Regions from separate parts of the Homo sapiens genome. Here all the other regions are linked to region 5. The links are contacts of gene promoters, found by promoter capture Hi-C in blood cells and fetal thymus (Javierre and others, 2016). All regions are on one chromosome and are shown on one strand. The core of a region is centred on a gene start or on the middle of the fragment in contact, and the rest is flanking DNA. Distances in the headings are between cores, read along the strand shown. Region 1 has its middle 140 kb from the start of LIPC. Region 2 has its middle 110 kb from the start of LIPC. Region 3 has its middle 140 kb from the start of AQP9. Region 4 has its middle 83 kb from the start of LIPC. Region 5 holds the start of MINDY2-DT (MINDY2 divergent transcript). Region 6 has its middle 120 kb from the start of LIPC. Region 7 has its middle 15 kb from the start of LIPC.

What was found. The method cuts DNA at HindIII sites, captures the fragments that hold promoters and counts their contacts. A CHiCAGO score of 5 or more calls a contact.
Region 1: a contact is called between a fragment that was not itself captured here and the fragment with the promoter of MINDY2-DT in region 5, in 5 of 17 cell types (total CD4 T cells, fetal thymus, M2 macrophages and 2 more). The highest score is 9.3, in total CD4 T cells.
Region 2: a contact is called between a fragment that was not itself captured here and the fragment with the promoter of MINDY2-DT in region 5, in 8 of 17 cell types (M1 macrophages, M2 macrophages, naive CD4 T cells and 5 more). The highest score is 8.2, in M1 macrophages.
Region 3: a contact is called between a fragment that was not itself captured here and the fragment with the promoter of MINDY2-DT in region 5, in 10 of 17 cell types (total CD4 T cells, naive CD4 T cells, M2 macrophages and 7 more). The highest score is 10.4, in total CD4 T cells.
Region 4: a fragment that was not itself captured here is called in contact with the fragment with the promoter of MINDY2-DT in region 5 in 1 of 17 cell types (fetal thymus); the score reaches 5.0 in fetal thymus.
Region 6: a fragment that was not itself captured here is called in contact with the fragment with the promoter of MINDY2-DT in region 5 in 6 of 17 cell types (endothelial precursors, total CD4 T cells, fetal thymus and 3 more); the score reaches 8.0 in endothelial precursors.
Region 7: a fragment that was not itself captured here is called in contact with the fragment with the promoter of MINDY2-DT in region 5 in 2 of 17 cell types (erythroblasts and total CD4 T cells); the score reaches 5.7 in erythroblasts.

Annotation. Positions count from the first base shown.
Region 1 is chr15:58,290,212-58,292,911 of GRCh38, forward strand. No RefSeq gene overlaps it. Among named protein-coding and RNA genes, the nearest start is that of LIPC, 140 kb to the right of the region's middle. The HindIII fragment of the contact is 4,949 bases long and covers 1-2,700 here.
Region 2 is chr15:58,325,352-58,328,051 of GRCh38, forward strand. No RefSeq gene overlaps it. Among named protein-coding and RNA genes, the nearest start is that of LIPC, 110 kb to the right of the region's middle. The HindIII fragment of the contact is 721 bases long and covers 936-1,656 here.
Region 3 is chr15:58,274,283-58,276,982 of GRCh38, forward strand. No RefSeq gene overlaps it. Among named protein-coding and RNA genes, the nearest start is that of AQP9, 140 kb to the left of the region's middle. The HindIII fragment of the contact is 5,115 bases long and covers 1-2,700 here.
Region 4 is chr15:58,347,228-58,349,927 of GRCh38, forward strand. No RefSeq gene overlaps it. Among named protein-coding and RNA genes, the nearest start is that of LIPC, 83 kb to the right of the region's middle. The HindIII fragment of the contact is 6,422 bases long and covers 1-2,700 here.
Region 5 is chr15:58,769,708-58,772,407 of GRCh38, forward strand. It overlaps MINDY2-DT (MINDY2 divergent transcript), which reads right to left and starts at 1,267. Exons shown (of 2, transcript NR_135474.1): 1 at 680-1,267. It overlaps MINDY2 (MINDY lysine 48 deubiquitinase 2), which reads left to right and starts at 1,595. Exons shown (of 9, transcript NM_001040450.3): 1 at 1,595-2,528. The coding sequence starts at 1,689. RefSeq lists an enhancer at 532-1,457 and a silencer at 1,270-1,549. The HindIII fragment of the contact is 12,290 bases long and covers 1-2,700 here.
Region 6 is chr15:58,306,317-58,309,016 of GRCh38, forward strand. No RefSeq gene overlaps it. Among named protein-coding and RNA genes, the nearest start is that of LIPC, 120 kb to the right of the region's middle. The HindIII fragment of the contact is 2,162 bases long and covers 304-2,465 here.
Region 7 is chr15:58,415,468-58,418,167 of GRCh38, forward strand. No RefSeq gene overlaps it. Among named protein-coding and RNA genes, the nearest start is that of LIPC, 15 kb to the right of the region's middle. The HindIII fragment of the contact is 2,111 bases long and covers 381-2,491 here.

The DNA of each region.
Region 1 (2,700 bases), core at 162-2,661, 480 kb before region 5:
TACCCTTCAATGGGTCTTATGCAACCCCAGCTGTACCCCACTTTGGAGAACACTGATCTATGGGGTGACTTATCACACACTGAGCAAATAGCCATGAAAACAAGTTGTGTTTAAAAGAAGAAACTATTACAATCAGAGCCAACACTTATTAACAACTTACCTTTTGCCAAGCACTATTCTAAGCAATTCATATGTTAACTCATTTAATCCTTACAACAACCCTATGGGAAGTTTTACTATTAACCCCTCATTTTACAAAACACAAGATTGAGGCACTGAAAGATTAAATAACTCATCTGAGGTTACACAGCTGGTAAGTGTTGGATCCAGAATGCCTTTTTCTTTTAAATAAACATTTTGTTTTGGAATAATTTTTTATTTATAGAAAAGCTGCAAAGATGATACAGAGAGTTCCCATATGCCCATCACACAGCTCCCCCATTTGTTAATATCTTACATAACCGTGGTACATTTGGCAAAATGAAGAAACCAACATTAACCAAAACGCCTGACTTTGAGTTTCACCAGCTTTTCTACTAACGCCCTCTTCCTGTTCCTGAGTCCCAGGGTATCACAGTAAACTTAATTGTGTTCTTGCCTCATTTTCTTCTGGTCTGTGACAGTTTCTCAGGTTTGCCTTGTTTTTCAAGACCTTAACATTTGTGAGAATGACTAGTCAGATATTTTGTAGGAATGTTCCTCAATATGAGTTTGTGTGATGTTTTGCTCATGATTGGACTGGGGTTATGAGATTTTGGAAGGAAGATCACGGACTTGAAGTGCCCTTCTCACCACCTCATATCACAGGTCCATGAGATCAACATGATGTGACCGGTGATGGTATCCTTCATCACTTGATTAAGGTGATGTTTGCCGGGTCTCTCCACTATGTTACTATTTTTCACATCTATAATCTTTGGAAACAAATTTCTAAGTCTATCCATTCTGGAAAAGGGGGGAGGGAATTCACTTCACTTTCTGGAGTGAGGGGTATCTACATATATTACCAGAATTGTTCTGTAAAGAAAATGTGTCTCTACTCCACCATTTTATTAAATCAGTTATTTATAGCAATAACGACCCATATATATTTATTTTTACATGGTGTTACAGTCCAATACTATGTTATTTATTGTTGCTCAAATTATCCAACTTTGGCCATTGGGTGCTTTCAGGTTGGCTCCTGTGTCCCTTTGATACACTGCCATCAATGTGGTTGGGATTTTCTTGTTTCCTTTTAATATTTTCTCATTTTCTGGTACCACAAGACACTCCAGGCTCATTTTGTATATCTCCTGTTTACAGTCTTAGATTGAGCCATTTCTCCGTGTAGCCCTGGTTCCTTTTGTTGGAGGACAGCACTGGAAACCAAGATCTGGATGCCACGTCTGCTCAATGCTACTGCAGTTTCATTGCTTTTGGGCCCTCTCCATGAACAGAGCAAGGAAATATACGTATGTATGCGAACCCATGTATACACACATCTCTATAACTGTTTCGATGTCTATATATATTAAGCTAAACATGAGTGCATATTAACAGTCTTTAATCCAGGAGCACAGGGTTCATTTTAGCCTTTCTGGGCTGCTTATATGTAACTTCCCTCTATGATAGTGAGAAAACTGGTTCCCATCATCTACCATCCATTTACTTATTTTTCAACCCTACCTACAGATAAAGAGTTTCAGAATCATTAAACTGTAAGAAACTTACCAAGAAAAGTACAATGTTTCTGTCTACTTCCTTTAGCCTTTAGCCTCTAGCCTCACAGTTTCTTGCTAAAATCACTTTTTCCAGTCACTTAGGTCAGCTCCTCTTTTCCCCCAAACCCCCTTCAGTGCTGTTATATCATACACTGTGCACCAGTCAGGATTCTGCCAGAGAAACACAGCCACAGAACCAGTAGGATATGGAGATATACACACACATGCAGACACACACACACAGTTTCTTGGCTTACAGGTGGCCATCTTATTCCTGTGTCTTCATATCACTTTCCTTCTATGCAGGTTTGTGTCCAAATTTTCCCCTTTTTATAAAAAAGGTTATAGCCTTATTGGATCAGGGCCCACCCTCATCACCTCATCTTGATCATCTGGGAAACTCCTATTTCCAAATAAAATCACATTCACAGGTACTGGGAGTGAGGGCTTCAACATCTTTTGGGGGTATGCAGTTCAACTCCTTATAATAGACAAACCTGAAGTCCACAGGACCCAAAGTCACCAAAGTCAGGAAGTGTAGGCTGGAAAGTCTTAGGCAGGAGCTGAAGCTGCTATCCCCAGGTAGAATTTCTCCTTTAGAAAAGACTCAGTTCTGCTCTTAAGGCTTTTCATCTGATTATGACCCCTCCCTCAAATTATCTAATATAACCTTTCTTATTTAAAGTCAACTGATTAGGGACTTTAATCACATCTACCAAATACCTTCACAGAAACATCTAGATTAGTGTTTAACTGAATAGCAGGGGACTGTAGCCCAGCCAAGCTGACACATAAAACTGACCATCTCACATTGTAATACATTTAGATGCATTTTCCCTAGTCTGCATTCCACAGCATGCCTTCTGAGGTCAGAGAATATACAAAGCAAGTCTAGAAGCTGCTGTGACTATGAGCGTCAACGGTGAAATCTTAGGCATCTACTTCATGCCAGACTTGTTCCACATGCTTTATCTCAGTTAATCCTTTGAGGAGCCCT
Region 2 (2,700 bases), core at 46-2,545, 440 kb before region 5:
TACCAGCTCTTTTTTGTAGCTCTGGTGGAATTTGGCTATGACTCTCTCTGATCCAGGCTTATTTTAGCTTGTAGGTTTTTTATTACTCATTCAGTTTTGGAACTTGATATTGATCTGTTCAGGGTTTCAATTTATTTCTGATTCAATCTTGGAACATTGTGTATTTCCATGAATTTATCCATTTCTTCTAGATTTGTGGCATACAGGTGTTCATATTAGTCTCTGAGAATCTTTTGTATTTCTGTGGGATTAGTTATAATGTCACTTTTGTTCTGTCTGATTGTGCTTATTTGGATATCTCTTCTTTGTTAATCTAGCTAGCGTTCTATTAATCCTGTTTATCCTTTCAAAAAACTAACTTTTGGTTTCATTGACACTTTGTTTGGATTTTGGAGTCTCAATTTCATTCGGTTCTATTCTGATTTTAGTTATTTCTTTTCTTCTACTAGCTTTGGGGTTGGTTTGTTCTTGTTTTTCTAGTTGCTCTAGGTGCGATGTTAGATTGTTAATTTGAGATCTAACTTTTTGAGGTAGGCAGTTGGCACTATAAACTTTCCTCTTAACATTACTTTTGCTGCATTCCAGTTATTTTGGTGTCTTGTGTCCTGTTTTCATTTATTTCAGATAATTTTTTATTTCTGCCTTGATTTCATTGTTTACACCAAAAGTCATTCAGGAGCAAGTTGTTTAATTTCCATGTAGTCTTGTGATTTTGGGAGATCTTCTTGATGTTTATTTCTATTTTTATTCCACTCTGGTCCAAGAGTATGACTGGTAAGATTTTGGCTTTTTAAATGTATTGAGACTTGCTTTATGGCTGAGTATGTGGTCAATCATGGAGTATAGTCCTTGGACAGATTAAAAGAATGTATATTATGTGTTGAATAAGTGGAGTATTCTGTAGATGTCTATTAGGTCCAATTGGTCTGATGTCAAGCTTAGGTCCAGAGTTTTTTTGTCAGTTTTCTGCCTCAGTGGTCTGTCTAATGCTGTCAATAGGGTGTTGAAGTCCCCCATTATTATTGTGTATCTGTCTAAGTCTTTTCATAGGTCTAGAAGTGCTTGCTTCATGAATCTAGGCGCTCCAATGTTGTGTGCATATATATATTTAGGATAGTTAAGTCTTCTAATTAAATGAACCTTTATTATTATGTAATGCCTTTCTTTGTCCTTTTTTACTGTTGTTGGCTTAAAGTTGATTGTATCTGATATAGGAATAGTGACCCTTGGTTTTTTTGTTTTCCATTCCTGTGGTAGAACTTTCTTCAACCCTTTACTTCTGGCTTATGGGTGTCATTACGTGTGACAGGGGTCTCTTGAAAATAGCAGATGGATGGGTCTTGCTTTTTTATCCAACTTGCTACTCTGTGCCTTTTAAGTGAAGAATTTAGACCATTTACATTCAAGGTTAACATTAATATGTGAGGTTTTGGTCCTATTATGATGTTGTTAGCTGTTTGTTTTGTAGTTTCTATTGTTTTTGCTTTTATAGGGTCTGCAGGATATGTACTTAAGTGTATTTTTGTGGTAGCAGGTATTGTTCTTTTGTTTCTGTGTTTAGAACTTCCTTAAGGATCTCTTCTAATACTGGTCTAGTGGTAATGAATTCCCTCAATCCTGGTTTGTCTGGTAAAGATTTTATTTCTTCGTTTATTAAGCTTACTTTGGTGGGATATGAAATCTCTGGTGGAAATTTCTTTTCTTTAAGAATGCTAAAAATAGTACCCCAGTCTCTCCTAGTTTATAAGGTTTCTGCTGAGAAGTCCAATGTTAGCCTAATGGAATTCCCTTAGGACATATGACCTTTTTCTCTAGCTGCTTTCAAGGTTTCTGTCTTTAGCATTGACCTTGGAGATTCCTGTGACTATATGCCTTGGTGATATTCATTTTGTGTAGTATCTCATGGATGCTTTCTGGATTTCTTATATCTGTATGTCTACCTCACTAGCAAGATTAGGGAAGTTTTCTTGAATTAGTACCTCAAATACATTTTCCAAATTGTTTGATTTTTCTCCTTCTCTCTCAGGAATGCCAATAATTTACAGGTTTGGTTGCTTTACATAATCCCATATTTCTCAAAGACTTTTTTAAATTCTTTTTTTCTTTTTTTTTTTTTTTAGATTGGGTTAATTCAAAAGACTGGTCTTCAAGCTCTGAAGTTCTTTCTTTATTGATTTTGTTATTGTTGCTGGTGGTGGTGGTGGTTTGCAGAAACCTTTGGGTTTAATATAATCCCCTTTGTCTATTTTTACTTTTTTTTCAAGACAAGGTCTCACTCTGTCACCCAGGCCAGAGCACAGTGGTATGATCATAGCACACTGCAGCCTCAACTTCCTGGGTTCAAGTGATCCTCCCACCTCAGCCTCCCAAGTAGCTGAGAATGTTGGCACATACCTCTAGGCCCAGCTAATTTTTTTATTTTCTGTAGAGACAGAGTCTCACTATGCTGCCCAGGCTTATTTTTGCTTTTGTTTCCTATACTTTCTAAGTCTTACTCATAAAATCTTTGCCCAAAACAATGTCAATAAGGTTTCCTCCTATGTTTTATCCAAGTAGTTTTACAGTTTCAGATCTTACATTTAAGTCTTCAATTCATTTTTTATTTGATTATTGTATACGATGAGAAATAAGGGTCTAGTTTGATTCATCTGCATATGTATAAGTAGTTTTCCCAGCACCACTTATTGAAGAGGCTATGCT
Region 3 (2,700 bases), core at 50-2,549, 500 kb before region 5:
TATTGCCAGACTGGAGTGCAGTGGTACGATCTCATCTCGGCTCACGGCAACCTCTGCCTCCTGGGTTCAAGCGATTCTCCTGCCTCAGCCTCCTGAGTAGCTGGGACTACAGGCACACGCCACCACGCCCAGCTAATTTTTGTATTTTTAGTACAGACAGGGTTTCACCATGTTGGCCAGGATGGTCTCTATCTCTTGACCTTGTGATCCAGCCACCTCGGCCTATGCAGCTACTCTTTTATGATTATGTACTATTCTGAATGTATCATATATTTCAATAAATATGTTTACAAAAATACATATATTTATACAAAATTTTGGGGTCAACAAACTAGAAATGTTTTGTAAATAAATCATAATAAAACACCATATATTAAAACTGTGGGAATGTAAATAAAGTAGTACTTATAGAAAACAAATCCATGACTTTAAATAACTATATTGATTTCAAAAAAAATGAGGTAAGATACTAGAGAAAAAAAAATTTAAATGTATAAGGAAGAAAATCATAAGGTTAAGGAGAAACAGTCTGAGAAATTCTGAATGTTAATAGCTTCTCTAGTGTTAACTGTCCTTGCCTTTATGGATAGCCCATCTATGCAAGTAGGACATCAGAGCATTGAAACTGCTTTTGCCCTGACGGCTTTTGTTGATATAGGCAAACTTGACTTCAGTTTTCATAAGGGAAAAAAAGAAAGAATGGCCCAGGGCCCAACCAGAGACTAGGAATCTAATAGGAGGCCCTCTTACACATGAAGCTGGTACTGAAAGACCACGCCCCCAGGGTAAGGTAAACCATAAGTAAATCTGCCCCAACCCAACCCCAGGACACTGCAGTCCGGGTTGCCTCAGTGCCAAGTGCAGCTGGTGTTCAGCTAGCCTCTCTAGTTTCTACCGTTCCTTAAATTCTGGCCTGCTAGCTCTTTATGACCTTGTAGGTTCTATAACACTTTGATAAGATTTTAAATATAGTTTAGAAAAAAGTATATTTATGCATGTGTAGTTTAGGTAGGATTTAGGCATATTTATCATGAGGGTGGGCTTCATTTACCTAGCCTGACATTATCAGAAATCAAATTTTTATATGTACTCAAAGTATAAAAATATATCTGGGAGTCACGCACACCAGCTTCCGGTTAATGGTTACCTCTGAGGTGGAAGAGAGGAAAAAGAGATGAAGACACATCTTTAGCTTTCTTTGTAATGTTTCTTGTCTTTAAAAGAAAACAAGTGTCTGTGCTGGGCATTGTAGTACATGCCTATAATTTAATCCCAGCTACTCAGAAGGCTAAGGAGGGAGTATCACTTGAGCCCGGGAGTTTGAGACTAGCCTGGGCAACATAGTGAGACCCTATTTGAAAAAAAACAAGAAAAGGTTCTGAAGCAAATTTGCAAAAAGTTAACATCTATTAAACTCTAGTAGTAGGCGACAGCAGACATTCGTGATTTGTTTGCCCAATATCCACTCTCTCTTTTTTTGTTAACAAAACCCCAATTTTGATGAGATTGGTGAAGTCACTTTTCCAAAGTTCCTTGGAGTCTGGAGGGGCCATATCACATAGTTCTGGCCAAAGAGATGTAGGCAAAGTCCCTTGGATGTGCTTCCTGATGTGCTAAAACAACAACTACAATGTTTTTATTGTATGGAGAAGGCCCCCTTCCTGTCCGACAGTAGCACAGCCTTATTTAGATCATGGGGATGGAAGCTGCCTAGGGTGATGCTAGCACTGGACATGCGGTGAGAAGCAGCAGCCTGGTCCCAGAGATAGCTCTGAGATACCGCATTGGCTGTGCACTGCCTACCTCCAAACTTCTTGTTATGGCCAAAAAAATTAACTTTTTTAAACCACTATTTTTCATTGTTCTATTACAGGTCCTGAATTCAGTTCCATGTAGTGTGTGTGTGTGGGTGTGTGTGTGTGTGTGTGTATGTGTGTGTGTGTGTGTGTGTGTGTGTAGAGAGAGATATATATACGTATATATCTCTCTATCTATATATGTATATAGATATACATATCTCTCTATACATATAGAGAGAGATATACATATCTATACATATAGAGAGAGATATACATATCTCTCTATATATATACATATATATCTATATATGTGTATATATCTCTTTTTTTTTTTTTTTAATGGAGTTTTGCTCTTGTTGCCCAGGCTGGCGTGCAGTGGCACGATCGCAGCTCACTGCAACCTCCGCCTCCCGGATTCAAGCGATTCTCCTACCTCAGCCTCCCAAGTAGCTGGAATTACAGGCATGTGCCACCATGCCCAGCTACTTTTGTGTTTTTAGTAAAGACGGGGTTTCACCATGTTGGTCAGGCTGGTCTCGAACTCCTGACCTCAGGTGATCCGCCGCCTCGGCCTCTCAAAGTGCTGGGATTACAGGCATGAGCCACCGCGCCCGGCCATGCATTGATTTTATTGTATTATTTCACTTATGTCGAAATGTCTCAGAAGTAAAAGTATTTTAAAATTTAAAGAGGTAACAGAAACCATAGGAAAGTAGAAATTATTGAATCAAATGAGTGCAGCCCCTCTGCTCTGGTTAGGCTGGATGAGGGGAATTCGTGGCTTGAGCAGTTGTTGTTCTTTCTGTTTCTGATAAGTTTATTGTGCAGAATCTGATTCCTGTTCCAACTGTGAAAATGAAATCAAAGTGGAGTAATATTTGATTTTGCTGTATCACATCAT
Region 4 (2,700 bases), core at 81-2,580, 420 kb before region 5:
TTAAAGTCAGGTAGAAACAACAAACAACCCCATCAACAAGTGGGCGAAGGATATGAACAGACACTTCTCAAAAGAAGACATTTATGCAGCCAACAGACACATTAAAAAATGCTCATCATCACTGGCCATCAGAGAAATGCAAATCAAAACCACAATGAGATACCATCTCACACCAGTTAGAATGGCAATCATTAAAAAGTCAGGAAACAACAGGTGCTGGAGAGGATGTGGAGAAATAGGAACACTTTTACACTGTTGGTGGGACTGTAAACTAGTTCAACCATTGTGGAAGTCAGTGTGGTGATTCCTCAGGGATCTAGAACTAGAAATACCATTTGACCCAGCCATCCCATTACTGGGTATATACCCAAAGGATTATAAATCATGCTGCTATAAAGACACATGCACATGTATGTTTATTGTGGCACTATTCACAATAGGAAAGACTTGGAACCAACCCAAATGTCCAACAATGATAGACTGGATTAAAAAAATGTGACACATATACACCATGGAATACTATGCAGCCATAAAAAATGATGAGTTTATGTCCTTTGTAGGGACATGGATGAAGCTGGAAACCATCATTCTCAGCAAACTATCTCAAGGACAAAAAACCAAACACCACATGTTCTCACTCACAGGTGGGAAATGAACAATGAGAACACTTGGACACAGGAAGAGGAACATCACACACTGGGGCCTGTTGTGGGGTGGGGTGGGGGGAGGGATAGCATTAGGAGATATACCTAATGTAAATGACAAGTTAATGGGTGCAGCATACCAACATGGCACATGTATGCATATGTAACAAACCTGCACGTTATGCACATGTACCCTAAAACTTAAAGTATTAAAAAAAAAAAAAAAAAGATTCCTACATCTGCATTGCAAGGTTCAATCCAGGCCTTCCACACTCTCCAGATTCAGTTTTGTGCCTCAAGTTCTCACTGTTTGGTATTTCACATTGTCTGCTGCTACCTACTCAATACCTACTGTGTTGCCACCTTCCCCCACTCCCTAAGCTATTTCTACAGTGGAAAGATGAAACCAGAGAAGAGTCAGTAAACACTTTGCACCTGACCCTCCCTCCCTGCCACAACCACTGCTTTGTGCTACGCTGAGAAGCTCCCTGTCTCTGGCCTTGGTTGATAGCAGAAAACAGGGATAATGCAAAGTATTCCTGAGAAAAAGCACCAAAACCTTGTGCTCAAAAGTGGTGAACATGGCCAAGAGAAGGCCAGAATTCTTGAAGCAATGACAGGTGCAGCCTCTACAGGGGACCTCCATAGTGCTGGAGAGAATATTCAGCAGGGACAGGGATTCATTCCCTATTGAATCCATGGCAATCAAGCTCTGTGTCATATGTTCTTTCAATCAAGCCAAGGCCTTATGTCTTTTTGAGACTCTAAACACAAGTGAGATGGGGGACACCAGGATGAGGCAAGAAGAGATTGGCTGAGTCATTTGCAAACAAGAAGAAATTTGCTATATGATACAGGATAAAGTAGCAGGTGCTAAACAGGAAGTAATTGAGATCATTGAAGGGGAATACAAGCCAGACATTTTTTTTTCAAATTTTTTTCTATTTGATTCTGTGTAAATATTATAACTATAGTCTAGAATATCTTTCTAATGTTGATGAACTGACATATGGGGAGGGAAGAGAACTTTCTCATCAAAGGTGAGGAGAAGCCAAAGCCACAGAAGAGCGGCTCCAGCCCCTGGCTGCCCCAGGCTCAGGTGTCCAGCTGTGGACACTCACTCATGACTAAATGCTGCATATTTCCCGGAAACTCCAGGGCCCAATTTGGGTTGATGAATCCCTTTGTTTTGATGGAGGGAACAAGGTGTTTTCATTTTTTCCTTTAAAATTTTTCTTTTCTTTTCTTTTTCTTTTATTTATTTATTTATTTTTTTTGAGATGGAGTCTCACTCTGTCGCCCAGGCGGGAGTGCAATGGCACAATCTTGACTCACTGCAACCTCCACCTCCCAGGTTCAAGTGATTCTCCTGCCTAAGCCTCCCCAGTAGGTGGGATTACAGGCATGCACCACCACGCCCAGCTAATTTTTGTATTTTTAGTAGAGAGGGGGTTTCACCATGTTGGCCAGGCTGGTCTCGATCTCCTGACCTCATGATCTACCCACCCTGGACTCCCAAAGTCCTGGGATTACAGCAGTGAGCCACTGCGCCCAGACTTAAATTTTTCTTTTTCTTTTTTTTTTTTTTTTTTTGAGATGGAGTCTTGCTCTGTTGCCCAGGCTGGAGTGCAATGGCGCGATAGCCCACTGCAACCTCCGCCTCCCATGTTCAAGCGATTCTCCTGCCTCAGCCTCCCAAGTAGTTGGGATTACAGGCACCCACCACCATGCCTGGCTATTTTTTTTTTTCAGTAGAGGTGAGGTTTCGCCATGTTGGTCAGGCTGGTCTCGAACTCCAAACCTCAGGTGATCCACCCGCCTCGGGCCTCCCAAAGTGCCGAGATTACAGGCGTTGAGCCACTGTGCCCAGCCTTAATTTTTTCTTATCAATTTTTAATCAGTAAAGTAACTCACGCTTGTGGCAACTGAAACAAATGTTGATATTTATCGTTCCTTAAATGTCTATAGTTTTATTTTCTTTAAAACAGGGTTATCTACACATATGACTCTACATCCTACTTTTTCCATTTAACTCCTGCAAGTCAATGCATACAGA
Region 5 (2,700 bases), core at 17-2,516:
ACTCAGGAGGCTGAGGCAGGAGAATGGCGTGAACCCGGGAGGCGGAGCTTGCAGTGAGCCGAGATCGCGCCACTGCACGCCAGCCTGGGCGACAGAGCAAGACTCCGTCTCAAAAACAACAACAACAACAAATTAGCCAGGCATGGTGGCGGGCGCCTATAGTCCCAGCTACTCGGGAGGCTGAGGCAGGAGAATCGCTTGAACCCGGGAGGCGGAGGTTGCAGTGAGCCAAGATCGTGCCACTGCACTCCAGCCTGGGCGACAGAGAGAGACTCCGTTTCAAAAAAAAAAAAAAACAAAAGCAAAAACAAAAACAAAAAAACATATAAGTATGTATTAAAAAATAGCAATAAGAAAAAAAAAGACAGTAAGCTCCATGAAGATATAAGCTCCGTGATCCACTATGGCATCTCCAGTGACAGACAGCATCCAGCAACTTACTTGGTACTAAAATGTATTAAAGGAATGAATGAAATACTACTTTGCAATCTTGTCTGCCTTCTCTAACCAACAGAGGTGCAAAAATATCACATTCTAATTATGTATCAGGTATTTATATGTCTGCGAAGGAAGACCTGTCTCGTTAATTTTTTATCCCCAACAGCCTAGAAAATGTTGAAAGAAAAAAGATGGGGGAAAAAGCCCTTTTCTGTAACAAGTTAGAATAGGACCCACATACATTTTGTTACTAACAAAACGTCCAGCTTGTCTTTCTTCTTTGAAAACTGCATGGCCTTAAGAGGAGTCCATTCTAATTAGGAAAAAAGTCACCTTTTCAGAAGCAGGCGCTTCCCACTCCATGCAAAGTGAAGCCAAGTTAGCAAAACCGCAAAGACTTGGCTAATTCAAATACAAGCTAATTTATTATTATTGGCGCAAATTAGCCACTTTCTTTTGCTACGCATGTCAATGTCCACAATCATACCGACCCTTTCCTGTAGGGCGAATGTCTCACCAGTAGCTGGTGAGAAGCACAGCTCTTCTCAGCCAAAACCGACAGAGACTGGAATTTGTGCAGTGCAGTAATCCAAAGCCGTCGAGTAGATATGCCTGCTTTAAAATCTGCATCTCGTAAGAAATGCCTTAATTTTCCATATTAGGAGCTGAGAAACCAAGTCCCCTGAGCCCTTCAGGGACAAGTTCTTTTCCAAATACTACAACCACCTCCAACCACCCAACAATGCCTCAGGCCGAGGGTGGGCCACACGCGACCCAGCGCTAAAGGGTCACAGCCAAGCTGTCCGCCTCCTGCCTTCCCTTTAAAGAAGCCGCACACAAGGGAGCTGCCCGGGAGTTCAACTTCCGGCCACATAGTGAGAGGATGTTTTCCTACTGGAGCTGAGCCGCGGGGGCGCGCCCCCCGGCCGCGCCCTCCTAGCCACGCCCTCCACGCCCGGCCTTCCGAGAGCGAGCTCGGTCGGACGCACGGAAAGGGCTGGGCCACGTGGGCGGCTGCTGAGTGGTTCGCCTTCGCCTCTCAGCGCGCAGTCAGGCGGAGGCAAGCTCAGAGCGCACGGACAGAGCGGTAGCGCGCGCCCGCGCGCGTTCTTAGTACTCTCCCCGGTGACGTGCCTGACCGAGGCCGCGCCAGGGCGCTGTTGCTGCCAATACAGCTGTCATGGCGTCCAAGGCGCTGGCTGCGGAGAAGTGGCCGCGGTCTCCATAGAGCTGGGGGCGGGCGGCCCGGTATGGAGAGCAGCCCCGAGAGCCTGCAGCCGCTAGAACACGGGGTGGCGGCCGGGCCAGCGTCAGGGACAGGTTCTTCGCAGGAAGGGCTACAGGAGACCAGGCTCGCCGCTGGTGATGGTCCTGGGGTATGGGCGGCGGAGACCAGCGGCGGGAATGGGCTGGGGGCGGCGGCCGCCAGGAGGAGCCTCCCGGACTCGGCTTCTCCCGCGGGCTCTCCTGAGGTTCCCGGACCCTGCAGCTCCTCCGCGGGTTTGGACTTGAAGGACAGTGGTTTGGAGAGTCCTGCTGCCGCCGAGGCGCCTCTGAGAGGGCAGTACAAGGTGACCGCCTCCCCGGAGACAGCCGTGGCCGGAGTGGGTCATGAGTTGGGTACCGCCGGAGACGCGGGAGCCCGCCCGGATCTCGCCGGCACCTGCCAAGCAGAACTGACCGCCGCCGGCTCCGAAGAGCCCAGCAGCGCCGGCGGCCTCAGCAGCAGTTGCAGCGACCCGAGCCCTCCTGGGGAATCTCCGAGCCTGGACTCTCTGGAGTCGTTCTCTAACCTGCATTCTTTTCCCAGTAGCTGCGAGTTCAATAGTGAGGAGGGAGCGGAGAACAGGGTCCCTGAGGAGGAGGAGGGCGCGGCGGTGTTGCCCGGGGCTGTTCCTCTGTGCAAGGAGGAGGAGGGGGAGGAGACCGCTCAGGTGCTGGCGGCCTCCAAGGAACGCTTCCCGGGACAATCTGTGTATCACATCAAGTGGATCCAGTGGAAGGAAGAGAACACACCCATCATCACCCAGAATGAGAACGGACCCTGCCCCTTGCTGGCCATCCTCAATGTTTTGCTCCTGGCCTGGAAGGTACATTCTGCAGCTTTCTACTTCCTACAGCTTTTGGGGTGGAGGAAAACGGGGTGAGGGAGCTGCTGCATGTCAGGTGATGGCTTCCTTTCTTTCCTCATTCATCAGTCCCCTTCTTACATGAAATTCATTCCAAGACTTCCATGTTGAAGGAATATTCCTTTATACATAT
Region 6 (2,700 bases), core at 135-2,634, 460 kb before region 5:
GACACATCCACAAGGCCACACCACTTCTGTAGATTTTGAACAAGCTTCATATTAGTTGGTATACAGCTGTTGCCTCAAGCCCCCGTTCTCTCCAACAACTTCACTTCCTTTCTCTGGCTCCCCAGCCTCTCCTCAAAACCCCTCAACCCAGCAACTAAAGAGTTGGAAGACTCTGACTGGCCCTACGTGCTAAAAAGGTTATTAAATACCTTGGAAATCATCTCTACCAGTTTTAATACTCATTCCCTTTTCACAGTACTTCAGTGCACGTGGACAGAGTCTGAAAGAAGATTTTGGGCAAAAAGCTTCCTGAGCATAGGTCACACGAAGCTGAAAATCCCTACCCGACCTGTCCACCATGCTGATACTAACTGGTAAAGCCAACAGCAAATTGGGACCTTTGCTCAGTTTTTGCAAGAGACCTCTTGGGACTGTGAGGTCAAAACGTGTTTTGTTCTCAAATATACCAAGTCCATAGTCAGGTGAACTCCATGCTCCATGAGTTGTCCAAAACAAAACAAACAAAAAGAAAAAAGCAAGACACACTAAGAAAATAAAGGGAAAAGAAAGACCCAGGAAATGATCTCACACTTCCCAACCAGCTCCTTCTTCCTGTAATACAAAGAACAGGCCCAATAAGTCTGAGGTTTGAGCAAAGCATTTCTGTCCTCTCTGGGGCAAACAGGAGGGACTGCAGCTTTCCATCATTAGCCAGAGTAAACCACATTAAATAGAACAATCAAGCAACATGCAGGGACCAGCTAGAAGCATGTGTCCCCTGTAAATCTGGTCAGAAATAGTAAATACAGGAAACGGAGACAATATGCTGCCCTATTAGTTCATTCTCTTTCATAATTAACAGCAGATGAATGTAAGCAGTGATACAATCTTTATCTTACCCAAAGCACCTTAATCCTCTGAGACCCCAGCTTTACTGTCTGCAGAAAGTGAGTCCTTTTTAACTCATTTAACAGACATCAATTGAGCAACTACTATTTGCCAAAAACTCTGCTAGGAGCTAGCGTGGAATGTAAGCCTAAGTAAGACATGATGTTGGTTCCCAGGAGCCCAGGAGACAGACATGCAAACAAATAATTATAACGCACTCTGGGAAAAGCTGTAACAGACTCTATGCAAGGTGCATGGGAGCTCAGAGCAAGCAGTAATTAGTTTGGCTGCTGAGTTAGGAAAGACCTCAAGGAGAGGCAGCATCTGAAATAACATCACAGATGGATGGGTCCAGATAATCCCTGTGGTTTATTTCAACTCTGTGTTCAGATTCTGTTAAAAAAAAAAAAAGAGAGAGAGAGAGAGAGAAAGAGAGAGAGTACAATAGAGACACACGCTGAGAGCAGTCTTGAATAGGCATGCATGTTCCTTAAAGGGTCAGAGCCTCTCTTTATGCATCACTGAGCACCCAAGACAGTGGCCTGTTGATATTTGCTAGATCTTGAAAGGTATCAGACTAAGGTATGATTTGGAGATTATGTCACGACATTAAAGAATCAGCCTTCAGTGAGGAAACAGTGGATCCCTTCACTATGAATCACGCATTTCTCAGAAGTCTCTGATTCCCTGAAATTTCCCTTGGAAAATTCCCAAATGCACTAGTGAACTCTTCCAAATGGCACAGTTTTCGATCATGTCAGCCTCACCATTCCAGTAAGAAAAACTGGGTGTCCCAGTAAGATTTTCAATGGGAACGTCTTTCCCATTGAAGACGTGGTTGGGTTTCATTTTTTCACCTTCCCTCCCCCTGTTTCTTTTTATGGGCTGGTTTGGAGTGATAATTTATTGTTTTAAAAAAGAGTAAACCTATGATATTTCTAAATAGAGACTTTGGAAAAAACCTGACAATTCTGGGAATATATGTGGAATTAATGAAAAGTTTTCCCTAAAGAACAGCCCCCTTTCAAGGCCTGCTGTCTGGGAGCCAAATGGAAGGGAGGGCAGGGCAGGAGAGAGGAAAAGGCATTCCAAAAGCAAACTCAGGAGCAGACTTTGGTAGAGGAGAAAAGAAATGAATTCATCAATTCTGACCCCTCCCCTCCCCACCTAATCATCATGGCAGGTAGGAACTTCTCCCATAAGTTTATTGGTGCGTTTGTCTAACTATGTTCTTACTGAGCATCTATACAACCCAGGAACTGGAAGAGAGGAATCAGATACAAAGGCAAAGGAAAAGGCTCTCAAAGCAGCTTATGCTCTATACGCAGGTATGGATGGTCCCCAACTTGTGATGGTGCTGCTTACAATTTTTCAGCTTTACTATGGCAAGAGGCATTCAGTAGAAACTATACTTCAAGTACCCATACGACCATCCTGTTTGTGACTTTTGGTATACTATTCAATACATTACTTGAGATTTTCAACGCTTTATTATAAAATAGGCTTTGTGTTAGATGATTTTGCCCACCTGTAGTCTGATGTCAGTGTTCTGAGCCCATTTAAGGTAGGCTAGGCTAAGCTTGATGTTCAGTAAGTTCCATATATTAAATGTATGTTTCTGAGGATATTTTCAACTTACAATGGGTTTATCAGGATGAAACCCCATTATAAGTCAAGGAGCCTCTGTACATGGATTTTTTTTTTATCATGAACAAAGCATAGGGGGCAGTGCTGAGTGCGGAAAGTAGTCTTGGCCTCTTGGTCTCTCCATCGAAAGCTGGCACTAGGTGTGCAAGGACCACAGTAAATTCT
Region 7 (2,700 bases), core at 186-2,685, 350 kb before region 5:
TAAAATGCAAACTGGGAGGATATCTGCAATGAACTAATAGAAATAAGGACAAAAGATATGAATAAGCTATTCTCAGCAACAGAAATTTGAATGAACAATCACACACGTAAGAAAATGTTCAACCTCACCAGTAATCAGAAAATTTAAAATTAAAACAATGAGATACCATTTTACATCCATCAAACTGGTGAAAATTAAATAATCTGACACTCCTCAAGTGTTGGTGATGAGGTGGAAAAACTGAAGGAACACTCACATTTTGCCAACGATACTTTCACGGAAGTAATTTATTTGAAGAATAAATTGTCAACATCTTACTAACTCTGATGGGACATATATCTTACAATCCAGCAATTTCACTTCTAGGAATAAACTCTAGAAGCTTTCACTTGTGGATGATGCAATGTCTACTGCAATATTGTAATAGGAAAATGAAAAAACTAAATAACACAAGTATCCATCAACCCAATGAACAAATTCTGATACTTTCTTAAAATGGGACCATTTGTAGGTGTTTTATCAACAGAGATAAATCTCGAAAATACACTGCTGAGTGACAAAACAAGTTGCAGATAGATGTGTAGAGTATAAAAGTTTGAAAACATACAAAATAATGGTACAATCATCCCTCTATATCCATGGGATTCCACATCCATAGATTCAATCAACCGAGGATGCAAAATATTTGGGGGGAAAATTATACAAAATTCCAAAAGGCAAAACTTGAATTTGCCACATCCTGAGTACCATGTTAAAACCAGGCAAATGAAGGGATGTATAGGCATTGTATTAAGTATTATAAGTAATCTAGAGGTGATTTACAGCATATGACAGAATGTGCATAGGTTATATGCAAACACTACACCATTTTGTATCAGGGACTTGAGCATCAGTGGGTGGTCCTGGAACCAATCCCACACAGATACTGAGGAACTACTGTATATTTTTCGTAGCTACATACATATGCTGCAAACATATACACACAGAGATGAGAATGAAAGACACCAAACTCAGGGTGGCGTTGCCTCTGAGACAGGAAAAATAAGATCAGGCTTGAGAAGAGATACACAGTTATACAGGTACAGCACTCTATTTTTTAGCAAAAATAGGAAGCAAGTACAGCAAAATATTAGGATTTGATGGAGCTGGGAAGTAGGTGGTATTCAAAACTATGCATTATACGCATGCGTGTGTTTGAAATCATTATAATTTCTTAAGTGAGCACCTCAGTTTTTACATATAAAAACATATAAAGTATGTAAAATATATAAATATCATGAACAGATAATTCATAAAGAAAGAAAAAAGGCAATAAAAATGGAAGTGGTGGTAAATTCAACTTCAACCCATTGGTTTTAAAGAAAAATTTAAAAATGCACATACCATTTTGGCTTATCAATTTAGCATAAAATTACAAAAATGTTAATAGCTAATGTTAACAAGGGTGGAGGATAGGACAGAGGAGGAGTACACTCACTGCTAATGAGTACTTAAAATGACAGAAATTTACTTAACGTAGCAGTGTATATGTAAAGGCAAAATATATAGGTAGATATAGATACCTAGATATAAAACCTTTGCCTTAGCAATTCTACTTTAAGAAATTTATACAAAGGAAAACGTGGTACATATATGATCTGTAGTATTATTTTTAAGGAATACTACGCAGCCATAAAAAAGAACAAAATCACATCCTTTGCAGCAACATGGCTACAGCTGAAGGTCATTATCCTAAGCAAATTAACACAAAAGCAGATAAACACTGCACGTTCTCACTTATAAGTGGGAGCTAAACATTGAGTACAAGTGGACATAAAGATGGAAATAATAGACAGTGGCATTCTAAAAGGGGTGAGAAGGAGAGGGGGACAAAGGTTAAAAAAACCTATCGGGTACAATATTCACTACTTGGGCAATGGAACCATTAGAAGCTCAAACCTCGGCATCACACAATATACCCATGTGACAAACCTGCACATGTTCCCTCAGAATCTAAAATTTTTTTAAGCTACTAAAAAAATAATTTATACAAAGAAAATCATACATGTGGACCAAGATTTATGCATATGTTTATAATAGCATTGTTCATAATAGTGTTATCTTAAATACAGTTAATGAAAAAACAATAGGGAATTAAGCCAATTATGGTACATCTATAGAGTGTAACTGTACTCTGTAGCTATTTCAAATAATGTTTTAAAAGAATATTTAATGCCCCTGAAATATGCCATTAATGTGTTGTTAATACACAGGTATTTAAACACTTTGTACAGTGTGTTTACAGTTATTTTTTTTAAATAATTGTATACATAGAAAAAATGACTTGGGGATATCCACATCAAAATGTCAACAGTGCTTATCTCTAAATGTGAAATCACAGACCTATGTATGTTTTTCTTTTTGTTCTTCTTTATTTTCCTATTTTACAATAATAAACATTTATTGATTTTATAATAGAAAAGTTATTAAAAATAAAACGTGCAACAAAATAAGCTTTGGTTGATTAAAGATTTAAATATAAAATCAAATTATGATAGAACTTGCAGACAACTGGAAAGAGAGTTTATCAGCTCTCTGGGGTAATTTTAACTTTCTCAGCTTTGAAGCAATTGAAATGATTGCACTATAAAAATTAGCATTACTGAAGATTTTTTAAGAGGGAAAATATTTCTATCAAACATTACAAAGAATTAAGATCCA